5 separate regions of the Homo sapiens genome follow, and regions 2, 3, 4 and 5 are each linked to region 1. Evidence: promoter capture Hi-C in 16 types of primary human blood cells and fetal thymus (Javierre and others, 2016). All regions are on one chromosome and are shown on one strand. The core of a region is centred on a gene start or on the middle of the fragment in contact, and the rest is flanking DNA. Distances in the headings are between cores, read along the strand shown.

Evidence for each region. Contacts are between HindIII fragments. The CHiCAGO score rates a contact against its expected background, and 5 or more counts as called.
Region 2: a fragment that was not itself captured here is called in contact with the fragment with the promoter of LRFN5 in region 1 in 1 of 17 cell types (endothelial precursors); the score reaches 5.4 in endothelial precursors.
Region 3: a fragment that was not itself captured here is called in contact with the fragment with the promoter of LRFN5 in region 1 in 1 of 17 cell types (naive CD8 T cells); the score reaches 7.5 in naive CD8 T cells.
Region 4: a fragment that was not itself captured here is called in contact with the fragment with the promoter of LRFN5 in region 1 in 1 of 17 cell types (naive CD8 T cells); the score reaches 6.0 in naive CD8 T cells.
Region 5: a contact is called between a fragment that was not itself captured here and the fragment with the promoter of LRFN5 in region 1, in 1 of 17 cell types (total B cells). The highest score is 6.0, in total B cells.

Annotation. Positions count from the first base shown.
Region 1 is chr14:41,605,569-41,608,153 of GRCh38, reverse strand. LRFN5 (leucine rich repeat and fibronectin type III domain containing 5) reads right to left here and starts at 1,278. Exons shown (of 6, transcript NM_152447.5): 1 at 1-1,278. The HindIII fragment of the contact is 1,232 bases long and covers 416-1,647 here.
Region 2 is chr14:39,622,149-39,624,733 of GRCh38, reverse strand. All of the region lies in intron 2 of LOC105370461 (a long non-coding RNA gene), which reads right to left. Among named protein-coding and RNA genes, the nearest start is that of FBXO33, 190 kb to the right of the region's middle. The HindIII fragment of the contact is 5,395 bases long and covers 1-2,585 here.
Region 3 is chr14:39,669,534-39,672,118 of GRCh38, reverse strand. The region is part of intron 4 of LOC105370461 (a long non-coding RNA gene); the gene reads right to left. Among named protein-coding and RNA genes, the nearest start is that of FBXO33, 240 kb to the right of the region's middle. The HindIII fragment of the contact is 284 bases long and covers 1,165-1,448 here.
Region 4 is chr14:39,703,411-39,705,995 of GRCh38, reverse strand. The region is part of intron 4 of LOC105370461 (a long non-coding RNA gene); the gene reads right to left. Among named protein-coding and RNA genes, the nearest start is that of FBXO33, 270 kb to the right of the region's middle. The HindIII fragment of the contact is 668 bases long and covers 961-1,628 here.
Region 5 is chr14:40,013,282-40,015,866 of GRCh38, reverse strand. No RefSeq gene overlaps it. Among named protein-coding and RNA genes, the nearest start is that of FBXO33, 580 kb to the right of the region's middle. The HindIII fragment of the contact is 4,586 bases long and covers 1-2,585 here.

The DNA.
Region 1 (2,585 bases), core at 29-2,528:
CCTTCTCACGATTGGCTTCGAAGCCCACCGGACCGCGGGCAGCAAAGAGAGCGTTCTCGCATAGCCCTTTAATCACGTTTCCTTCAAGTTCTCCTCCAACCCGAATCCACGTAATTCAAGAGCTGGTGACATTTTGGTGGGGAGGAGGGAGCCGAGAAAGGGCTGAGGAAGAGTCGGGGATTTTGTTAAGCAGTTTAATAAGCAATCCTCATTACCTTATTTGTTTTGTTTTGTTTTGTATAGCAAACCAGTTCGAAGGGCTGAACTTTTGGCTTCAAATGCTGTGAACCAAAACGTAAATATCCTTCTGGCCAAGAGAAGAAGGTGTAGATACACGGAAACAAGAGGGCTGCAAGACACTCTCTTGACCTTGTGATGTACCTGGAAGCAGGTTAATATTGGCGCTTTCCAAGCTTCTGGGTAAAGCGATCCACACACCTGGGTCCACAGCCCAGCAGCCGCTCCAAATCCAGCCAGGAAAATGGGTCTGGGCGTCCTCAGAGCTCTGCAAGAACCCGGGCATGAAGGGGCATCGCCGAGTTAACACATTTGCTTCTGGGCAGTTGGATAAAAGACAGTCAAATGCATCAGATAGGCGCGCGCGTACACACGCGCGCGCACACACACACGCAGCTAGCTGGAAAGCGGCTTACAAAACACTAGAGACATGCCAAGATGACTTGAAAAGGTAGCCAACATCCAGGATCTTTCCGGAACACAGAAGGGCCAGCAGGGAGGTTATCAAAGTCTTCTCAAGTCTTTCAATTCTTCCTCTCTCCTCTGAGTGTGTGTGTGTCTGTCTAGGTTTCGTTGGTCTGCCCCACCCCCGTCCAGTTGCGCTTTTTTTTTCTGATATAACGGACCGTGCAAAATGGATTATATGGGTGGGCTGTGTTCACAGCCAGAGCTCCCCAAAGTCAAGGATCCTAAGGGAGCAGCCAGCTGCTAAACAATTCACATCCTCAAGGGAAGAAGGAAAAACACGCTCAAACACACGCAAACACGCGCACACACATACATAGTCCTCCGTTCGGGCAGCTCTGCACACGCTCACCGCCTCCCTGCGCGCCGCGGAACACAGCGCCCCGCCCGCTGGCCACCGCGCTGGGGCGAGTCCGCAGTTCAGGCGCGAGGCAAGCAGCCGAGGTCCGGGGCTGCGGCCGCGGCCGGGGCGGACCCGGGAGCTGGGCTTCCCAAAGCGTCGCGTGTGGGCAACGGCGGCCTCCTGGCCGCGTGGAACTGAGCCCTGCGCTGCAGCATGAAGGCGGCGGCGGCGGCGGCGGCGGGCGCGCGGCCGTGAGCTCAGCCCGCGCTGCAGTGACGGGAGCGGCCGTGTCGGCCAGACCCCGAGAGTCCGTGAGACCCCGGCCGGGGCCGCTCCGCTGCTGTCAGCCCTCGGGCCTCCCAGCCAGACTGGTTCTGAACCGATTTATCAGGGGGTTGCGGAGAGGGCCGGCGAAGCGCCAGGAAATCCCCAGGCTGAGGAGGCGCGGGGGCGTTGCAGGAAGGGGGAAGGGAAAAGGCAGAAAACCTGGAGAATGAAAGCGAACTTCCAGGGGCGTCCCCAGCCTCCTGCAAAAGGGCAATTTGCTGATCGCCCACTTCCTCGCAGTTACGGGATAGAGAGAATCATCACTGAGTCAAGCTTCGGCTGCTTAGGGCGGTGGGAAAAGTCATTATCTATAATAACCCGCCGGAAATTTTGAGGAGAGCTACTGACTTGGGGGTTTCAGTCATCTGAGGCTGGCTTCCGCTGTCCCCTTAGTTGTGGGTGGTGATTTGCTTACTAATCAGATGGGAGCGGATTCTGAAAAGAACATTTATATTTGGGAATCAACTCAGCTCAGCATCAGACATTACGAATACTGCAGTTGGTCACATTTTACTATGTGAAGGGCAGAAAGGGAGCCCAACAGTCTTCATAAGCCAGACCTAGTCTCTAAGGTCACCGGCACAGACGCAGGGTCTAAAGCAGGAAAGAGGTGCGACTGGAAAGGAGGTTAGACAGGGCCCTGCGGGAATGGATCTGCCCGGAGCCCTCGCCTGGTTTTGCTTGAGACTCCGACAAGACTCCCAATGCTTCTCTCCCCGACCCTATCCCCACTCCCTCCATCCTGGAAAAGCCAGTGAGCAAAGTTAACTCTTTCTTCTAAGAAACCCTGAGTGAAATCTTGCTCTTCCTTTCTGCTAGAGTCCTGAAACCCTTTCGCTTCTCATTGTGGGTTCACCAGCACGTGGTCTTCGGACACTGAGAGCACCTTCGCTCTCAGCTGTGATCCTAGCTAGCCCAGACACCAGTCTGTACCCAAAGGAAGAGTAGGAAGTTGCAAAGGGAAGCTGGCTAACAAGGGCTTCTTCTGCCCTACTTGGCAAAGGCCCATACGGGTGGCCTCCGTGGATATGGAGCTCCTTCATTTTGTTCCAAAAAGAGCTCTGCCAGGCTTTACCATTGCCCTGGAGGTGCACAGGCGCCCGTATACTCGAGCACAACCATGGGCTCACCCCAAGCGCGCACACCTGCACCCACGCGTAAGGAAGAACCACACAGCTATCTCTGTCGGGGAAGAACACGAGGAGTGAAGTGC
Region 2 (2,585 bases), core at 47-2,546, 2.0 Mb after region 1:
ATCTCAATAGATGCAGAAAAGACCTTCAATAAAATTCAACATCCCTTCATCTTAAAAACTCTCAATAAATTAGGTATTAATGGAACATATCTCAAAATAATAAGAGCCATTTATGACAAACCCGCAGCCAACATCATACTAAATGGGCAAAAGCTGAAAGCATTCCCCTTGAAAACTGACACAAGACAAGGAGACAAGGATGCCCTCTCTCATCACTCCTATTCAACATAGTATTAGAAGTTCTGACCAGGACAATCAGGCAAGAGAAAGAAATAAAGTGTATTCAAATAGGAAAAGAGGAAGTCAAACTGTATCTGTTTACAGACAATGTGATCCTATATCTAGAAAATGCAATCATTTCAGCCCAAAATCTCCTTAAGCTGATAAACAACTTCAGTAAAGTCTCAGGATACAAAATCAACGTGCAAAAATCACAAGCATTCCTATAAGCCAACAATAGATAAGCAGAGAGCCAAATCATGAATGAACCTCCACAATTGCTGCAAAGAGAATAAAATACCTAGGAATACAGCTAACAAGGGATGTGAAGGACCTCTTCAAGGAGAACTACAAAACACTGCTCAAGAAAATAAGAGAGGACACAAACAAATGAAAATATTCCATGCTCATAGACAGGAAGAATCAATATCGTGAAATACTACCCAAAGTAATTTATAGATTCAAAGCTATTCCCTTTAAACTACCATTGACCTTCTTCACAGAATAAGAAAAAACTACTTTAAAATTCATATGGAACCAAAAAAGAGCCCACATAGCCAAGACAATCTTAAGCAAAAAGACAAAGGAGGCATCATGCTACCTAACTTCAAACTTCACAACAAGACTACAGTAACCAAAACAGCATGGTACTGGTACCAAAACAGACACATAGACCAACAGAACAGAATAGAAATCTCAGAAATAAGACCACACATCTACAACCATCTGATCTTCGACAAACCTGAGAAAAACAAGCAACACAGAAAGGATTCCCTGTTTAACAAATGGTGCTGGGAAAACTGGCTAGCCATATACAGAAAATTGAAACTGGATCCCTTCTTTACACCTTATACAAGAATTAACTCAAGATGGATTAAAGACTTAAATGTAAAACCCAAAATTATAAAAACCCTACAAGAAAATCTAGGCAATACCATTCAGGACATAGGAACAGGCAATGATTTCATGACAAAAACATCAAAAGCAATTGCAACCAAAGCCAAAATTGACAAATGGTATCTAATTAAAGAGCTTCTGCAGAGCAAAGGAAACTACCATCAGAGTAAACAGACAACCTACAGAATGGGAGAAAATTTTTGCAATCTATCCATCTGACAAGGGTCTAATATCCAGAATCTACAAGGAACTTAAACAAATTTACAAGAAAAAAAACAAATGACCCCACCAAAAAGTGGGCAAAAGACATGAACAGACACTTCTCAAAAGAAGACATTTATGCGGCCAACAAACATGAACAAAAGCTCAATATCACTAATCATTAGAGAAATGAAAAACCACAATGAGATACCATCTCATGCAAGTCACAATGCTGATTATTAAAAAGTCAAGAAACAACAGTACTGGTGATGCTGTGGAGAAATAGGAACACTTTTACACTGTTGGTGGGAATGTAAATTAGTTCAATCATTGTGGAAGACAGTGTGATGATTCCTCGGGGATCTAGAACCAGAAATACAATTTGACCCAGCAATCCCATTACTGGGTATATACCCAAAGGAATATGAATCATTCTATTATAAAAATAAATGCATGCGTATGTTTATTGCAGCACTATTCACAATAGAAAAGACATGGAATCAACCCAAATGTCCATCAATGATAGATTGGATAAAGAAAATGTGGCACATATACACCATGGAATATTATGCAGCCATAAAAAAGGAACAAGGTCATGTCCTTGGCAGGACATGGATGGGGCCATAAGCCATTATCCTCACAGGAACAGAAAATCAAGCACTACGTGTTCTCACTTATAAGTGGGAGCTAACAAAAAAAAAAAAGAAGAAGAAGAAGTCAGAGTGGGCAGTCTGTAACCTATATACGATCCCAGATTCGCAATTTCAGGATTCCTTTTTCTGCAGTGCAGACTCTCCCATCCCCCAGCATGCAGGGTTAATAACTTTCATCTCTGCCCCAGAAACCTCATGTTTACTTTCAAGATAAATAGAGATATCAAAAACTTGTCAAACAGGAGCCAAATCATGGGAGTTTTCTATACCATGCAAAAAGTGTCTAGATTAATGTTATTGCCATTGGAAAGCATTGCAGGATTCTAAACACAGAGAAAAGAGCATATTTGAGTATAGAAAGATCACTTTGGCAGCAATATGGAAAATAGATTCAAGGCAGTCAAGACTAAAGGCAGCAAGATGATTTAGAAGACAACTGCAATGGTCCAGGTAGGAAATGAGGATATAAACACTGGTAATGGAGGAAGAGCAGAGGGAATGGACATGAGCAATGTCACAGAGATTGGACTCTCAGGATTTTATACTCCTATGAGATGTGGTACTAGAGAAGGAATTATCATGATATACCACCAGTGCCTGGTTGAATGCCATTAA
Region 3 (2,585 bases), core at 57-2,556, 1.9 Mb after region 1:
AGGTACTGTATGCTGTCCAGCGTAGACTCTTAATATATACGTATTGAAAAGTTTGAAAGTGCTCAGGTCTTCAACAATGGTGTCTTAATCATATTAAGATGTACTTTAATAAAGTTAAAGTCTTAAATAATAATTGTCATCAGTTGAAAAGGTGCAGTAAAATTATATAGTACTGTACCAACCTACATGCATAGATAATATAGACTGAAATAACCTTAGGGACAGTTTTGTAGTGGTCACAATCATAAAAATCTCAAAAAGCAGAAAAGGGAAGTGACAAATCACAAGGATATATTTATTATCACCCAATATTAATTTTTACCATTAGCATCTTGTGTCAGAACTCCAAGGACTACCAGGAAAAAATGAAGAAACTATGATTAGGAAATGGGCGTTCCCACTTTCATCCAAAATTGCCATTTGCATGAAGGTGACTTTGTATAAATTATATTCATCTCTTTTCAGGATCCTTGACTGTATATCAAAATGAAATATTAAGTTGTGTATTCACAGAATCCCAAGTTAAGAAGGATATTCTCTTGGGTTGAATTCGGTGATGAATTTCGAGTTACTCTCTCTCTCTGTGTGAGAGTCTATATTGTATAGGAGAGCTTCATTTATAAAATGTCTCAGTATTGAAGTGACCCCGAAACAATAAAAGGTGGGCATGTGATACCTAAAAACATCTGTTTGGAATGCATTTATTTACATGCCATTCATCAAAAGGGATTAGTTATTCTCTAGATTAATGCTATGCCTTCATTACTGCCCTATATGGTTAAGACTTTCACAATAATTCTCCATTTTCATCTATCTTTTGGATTAAATTGATTTTTAGTCTGCAAGAAGAGGAAACAATTTCACAAAGGAATCAGGTTCATTCTGAGCACTGTTCTGTAAAGCCACACCCTCAGTTCCCAGGGCTCTATGCATTCACTCTCCTTTGATACCAGAAGTTCATTGATAAGTTTGAGAAACACTGCCTGGGAGAATACTTAGGATGCATTACAGAATTTATTTAGGGAACAGAATATTTAGGGAAATTTGCAGGCAAGACTTAAATGCAAGAAAACAGGCAGCTGAAATATTTGTATATTTTTAGGAAAACCAATATAAATCCCTTTTCCAGCCCTCCAAAATCACTCTCACATAGTTTTTGAAGCTTAAAATTCCTTCCACACAAGAGAGCAATGCCTTTCAACCCATAGGTAGTGACATGGGTAACTAACCAATACTGTGCTTAAAGTGTACATACACTTGAGAATGACAGTATGTTATATTCTCAACAAAGATACAAGCAGCTGAAACCAAATCTTTCCTGAAAGCAAGTTTTAACTGAGGAAAAAAGCAAGATATTCTGTGCACATTAAGTGGAAAAAAACAGGAAGGGAATCCATGCATTGGGAAAAGAAGTCTAGAAAGAGCAAGTAAGAGTGTCAAAACAAGCTTTACCCAATTCAGAATTTTCCAAGAGTTACAATGAGTGGCTGACTTCTATTTCCTGATCCAGCCTCTGCCATCTTTCCCTCCTGCTCCTTCAACTCACTGCCTTGCAAGGACACTAAAGTATTTCTGCTAGCCATATAGATGGTGGTATCACCAGTTGCAATCCAAACCAAATTTAATGCTCTTTTGGCAGAAAGAAGTTTTAAGTTGTGAGGATGAGTTTTGCTAACATCTGTTAACTAATAAAAGAGCTTTCTCATTGTATACACTAGTTTAAAATGAGTAAAAAAAATTGAAATGTCATAAAACAATAGCATATACAGAGTTGTTCTGAAAAAGAAAAGGTATAGGAAAGACATGACAAAAACTTAACGCAAAAGGACTAAAGTAAGTTCACCAATGATAGGCATGTTTGGTTTCAATACAACAAAGAAGCCTGTGCACTATGGCTCACACCTGTAATCCCAGTATTTTGGGAAGCTGAGGTGGGAGAATCCCTTGAGCCCAGGAATTCAAGACCAACCTGGGCAACATAGCAAGACCCTGTCTCTTAAAAACAAACAAAAAAAATTCCTAAAAACTGGAGCTATAAAAAATGAAGGGGGCTTCTCTCTAAGCTGATGAACTCCCTGGCACTCAAATTTTCAGGTAAGGCTAATGTAGAGAGGGTGCCTGATTGGGAGATGGAGAAGGAACTAAAACTAAATTTAATGCTAAGCATCTCTAATTTTCTATAGACAATATCTCCCCTGGGGCATAAAGAAAGAGAGTTTTGAGACATTAATATAACCCAGAAAATAACAAATATTAGAGAATGACCATAAAAATGAAAATATTTAATGTTACCAATAAACCTGGAGGCCAGAAGAGACATAAACAAAGATGAGACACAACGAATGGTGGCAGGGAAAAGCAAGTAAGCAGAATACATTGGAATATGGTAACCAGGTAGGATTAAGGAAAAGCTGGGATAGGGAAATGGATGCTACTGGACCATGGCTGAGGGCACCAGGAATAAAGGCACAAGGGATTTGAGAATCAGGAGAGTGAGAAATCAGCCTGAAATGGAGTTTCCCAAAATGGAGGGAATACATGTTTTATGGGCGGAGGGGGACAAAAAGAGTTCTATGGTAAAATCT
Region 4 (2,585 bases), core at 45-2,544, 1.9 Mb after region 1:
CTCAGACCTCGATTTTCAATAGTTTTAATTAATATATTCCACAGTCAATAGGTTTGATAAACTTGAGACATCTCAAACCCATTTTAATAAAATTGACTTACAAAATAGAAAGGAAAGAAAATTGCATATAGATCTTGACAGATGTGCAAACTAACTCTCTGTACTCAGTAAACACAGTTTTCTCATAAAGAGATTTCCTGAGTTTTAGATATGCAAAATAATAGCTGAGCAATATTTTTAATTAAGAAAATGAAATACAAGGGCACAGTTTATTTTTAACCATTTGAGGAAAATGGGTAGGACGACAGGGAACAAGAATAGTTTCATGAAAAGCTTATTATCAAATTAATCAAAAAAGATATTTTTCTAAAGGATGTTTATAATGTTTATGAACTTCAGTAAACTACTTATATGGAGTTATTGTGTTGATTATTAAAACTTGTACTGATTTTAATATTACTACCACTATGGCTCTGTTCTCTACAACAGGATTTCTCAACCTCTGCACTATTAATGTTTTGGGCTAGATTAAGTCTTTGTTGTAGGGGACCATCCTCTGCATTTTAGGATGTTTATCAGCATCCCTGGCTGCTATTCACTGAGATACTAGTAGCAGCACTTCCCTCCCACTAGTTCAACAATCAAAAACATCTTTAGACATTGCCAAATATTCCCTGAGGAGCAAACATCACTCCCAGTTGAGATTTTCCTCTACGAGACAGTGTAATTTCTTATTCTAGAGTTAAGCTATATTTTCATAATTTTCAGGAAGGTATTTGCACTCTAACTGAACAGAATGAGGATATCGTGACATTCAAACCCAGCTGTTCATGAAACTGTAATGGAGAGAAGGAAATAAACACATCTCAAATGTGACTAAATAGCAAGACAATTGGCTCAACACTACGTGCAGAAAAAGTACAAACTCTAGAACAATGTGGATGCTTTATAACTGAAGCTTAATCATAAAAGACCCAGTTATTGACCTTCATATGAGAAAAATGGTAAATAAGAGTACTTTTTCAGTGCTGCTATCTCTGAATCCCTCCATTAAAATCAGCAGTGTGGCAAAGCTACATGAAAAACCTTGTCAAGACATTAAAGGCAGGCAGATAACGTTTGGCTGTATTCATTTTACATGTTGTTGTGCATTATGTTAGCAGTTTTTAAATGAAATGCCAGTGAGAAAAACACTAAAGGGAGATGCTTAAAAGGTAGAGCTAAGCTGCCACCTAGAGAATATAGAAATGACAGCATGTTAGCCACCTAAATTTGCTACATGAACAATATTGTCCTATTAACCAAAAATAGATCAAATTCAAAATCTCAAACGCAAAGTAAAATAAATTCTAATGTTATGCTTTTTAAGATTAGCCAATTATTCATAAAATTTTAAATTTACTTTCTCAGTTGTGCTTTTAAAGATTTTGGAGAGAGTTGGCTAACAGAGGCAAACCTTTAAAAGTTCAAAATAATTCTGAAGTGGTCATTGCTGGACAATAGCAGAATGCCTGTATAGAAAGTAGTGCACTTCAATGGCCTAGGCAAAGAATTTATGACTCAGACCCCAAAAGCAAATGCAACCAAAACAAAAATAAATAAATGGGACCTACCTAAACTAAAAAGCTTCTGCACAGAAAAAGAAATAATCATCAGAGTAAACAGAATGGGAGAAAATATTTGCATATTATGCATCCGACAAAGGACTAACATCAATAATTTAAAGGAACTAATACAAAGCAGCAAGAAAAAAAATAAATAATCTCATCAAAAAGTGGGCTAATGACATGAATAGACATTTCTCAAAAGAAGATATATAAACGGGCAACAGACACATGAACAAAATGTTCAACATCACCAATCATCAGAGAAATACAAATTAAAACCACAATAAGATACCACCTTACTCCAGCCAGAATGGCCATTATAAAAAAGTCAAATAAGCAATAGATGTTGGCATGGCTGTGGTGAAAAGGGAATGCCTGTACACTGCTGGTTGGAATGTAAATTAGTACAACTTGTATGGAAAACAGAACAGAGATTTCTCAAAAAATTAAAAGTAGATGTACCATTCAAGCCAGCAATCTCACTACTGGATATCTACACAATGGAAAAAAGAAGTCATTATATCAAAAAGAAAATGTGATATATGATATATAAATGTGATATTATATATATACACACACACACACATATATATATATATATCTCCCCACTTTGGAATGCTACTCAGCCATAAAAAAGAACAAAATGGAGGGAAACAGCCAAGATGGCCGAATAGGAACAGCTCCGGTCTACAGCTCCCTACGTGAGCGACGCAGAAGATAGGTGATTTCTGCATTTCCATCTAAGGTACGGGGTTCATCTCACTAGGGAGTGCCAGACAGTGGACACAGGACAGTGGGTAGAGCGCACCATGCATGAGCTGAAGCAGGGCGAGGCATTGCCTCACTCGGGAAGCGCAAGGGGTCAGGGAGTTCCCTTTCCTAGTCAAAGAAAGGGGTGACAGACGGCACCTGGAAAATCGGGTCACTCCCACCCTAATACTGCGCTTTTCTGACAGGCTTAAAATACAGCGCACCAGG
Region 5 (2,585 bases), core at 47-2,546, 1.6 Mb after region 1:
ATGGAAGAAAAAGGAACATGATCTAAGACAGAGAAAGCAGACTTCTGGGGAGAAGCTACTATAAAACTGAGGAAGAACTAGGGTGGTGGAGGGGTACTAGAAACCAATTCTATATAGGTATTAAAAAGTCATTCCAATTATAGGATGGCATCAATCAGGGTGACCAGCAGCCATGGAACCCTTAGCAAGGGTTAAAATAAAGAGAAAAGTAAACAGGCACACTGGTTTTCCAACTGAAGTTTAGAACAGGGAGATCTACACTTTTCTGCACTCTTCAAAAGCAGGTGTTAGAGACACAGAATAGAGTTATGAAGCCCCAGTTACTCCACAGACCCAGGCCCAATAAAGTCAAGCAAACTGGCCTCCACAGGTAGTATTTAAAGAGCCAACCATGCAATAGCATTGCTGGCATCCAAAAAATTTCAAAAGATTTAGCCCTTGGCTATAGAACACCAACAACTTATTTCCAAACCTCAATCTCCAATGCCTAACACTAGACTGAGTTAAATTGGTTCCTAAATAAGCAAGGCAGACGGAAGATGGCAGAATTCTCATCCTGAAGCACATTGATAGAGTTAGTTTGGGTCCATGTAATGATGGGGTACAATCCTAATTTTACTATTAGTACCCTCTTGCATATTATTCCATTATCAGCTTAATCTGTTAATTGATCACATTTATAATTGTATTATTCTTTTATCCACTGAAAGAGATTTCTGTTCCCTTACAATTTGTCCTTTCATATTGGCACCACTTTTTTGCACCACTACCTTCGAATATCCTTCCACTACTTCATTTTATTTATAAGAGGAGATTTACACAGAAACATGTATTTCAGTTCTTATTTTATAAAAATATCAGTTCCACTCATGTTAAATGGAACGCAGAGTCGAAGATGGCAGCTGCAGGACTGAGGGCTTTGTTTCTTGCTGACTGTTGGACAGAGGCCACCATCAGCTTGTAGGCTCTCTCAGTTCTTTCCTCTGCGGGTCTCCCAACATAGGCAGACCATCACATGGCAACTTCCATCTTCATAGTCAACAAGAGGGTGAGAGACTCCAGCAAGACGGCACTTCATCTTATGTTACACAATCGTGTAACCATGTATACGTAATCACATATATCTCATCCCCTTTGCATACGCTAGAGCTTAGAAGTAAGTCATATTTCCCACCCATGCTCTAGGGGAGAGAGTTATGTAAGGACAGGAACACCAGGAGTCAGGGACCAAGAGGGCAACCTTAGATTCTGTCCACTACAATTTATTTATTCCATAGGCTAAGTAATTTTAAATAAGGGGAGCCACATTTATAAGTCAAGTTTTTCTCTCTCCTTTAGTAAATATGATGAAACTGAGGATATATTCACATGTAAAACCAATTATTATATTAACTTCCTTTTGGATGTCAAGTTACCCAACTTTCACCTTTATAAAAAATGGTTCCAGAATCCCCAGTACAATTTTGAAGTACCGTCAGACCAAGCCAGTTGAAGAGAAGACAAATGTGATCTCTTGATGGCCATTTTTGCTGTGCTGCAAATCTCTTTGTTGCTTCCTTGTTTTGTCTTTTTAAGTTTAATTGAAATATCAAGTAACAAATTTTAGTACTATCACAGGCAAATATATTTTTTCCATTGCATTTTTATATTTCCCTTAATCCCCTTTGTTTACTAAAAAGAAACATACATAAAATCACAATTCAATATTTTATTTTTAGAATATCAGCTACGTTGTAGTTAAGTATGTTCATATGTCAATATATTTATAATATATGTATCTATCTACCTATATATATACTCTTATACAAGGTCATAACCCCTTTTAAGGTTTCTTGCGTTATAAATATTAATATTTCTTTCTTGTTAGGTTGATTTTCCTTTCATGGGCATTGTTCTTAAATTTGAAGACATTTGTTTGGCACTATATAAGCAACTTCTTACATATACATACACCTTTCCCAAAGTGAAGAACAGCAATAAAATAATAATTTGAATTCTACTGAACTGTCTTCCTAACCTTGGTATAATACCAAGGTCTTATACTAATTTATTTCATATTCTGTTTCTCATTTTATCTTTTTGTTCTAACTTTTTTAGTGTTTCTTAAACATTTTACTACATATAAAAAAGACTTTTTAAGAGATTTATCAGCAGCAGTTCAATTTTGAAAGTTCAATTAGTGCCAGGTTACTATTGTAAAGATAATCTATGGTACAAAAGAACATATCTATCCATTAAGAGAAGATACTATTTACTTTTTCTCAATAGTCACTGCATGGAATAGGTTTAAATTAATGATATGATCTTGGTTTTTGGAATAATGCTATCAAGATTGTATGGAATATGTTAATAACTAGAAAATATGTCTTAGACTGTATTTGTAATTATAACTAACTTCCTAGCAAGCTAACAAAGTTGGACAGGTGATCTATGGGTTTTGTTTGAGATGAACCACCTATTGTTTGCATTTCTATACCAAAATATTTATTCACCCAATATCACTGCTTCTTTTGCAGCAATCTTTGGTAGTGACTGCCTAATTCCAGCACCCAAAGTACCACAGGCCTAGGAGAGGAGCAGGTTCA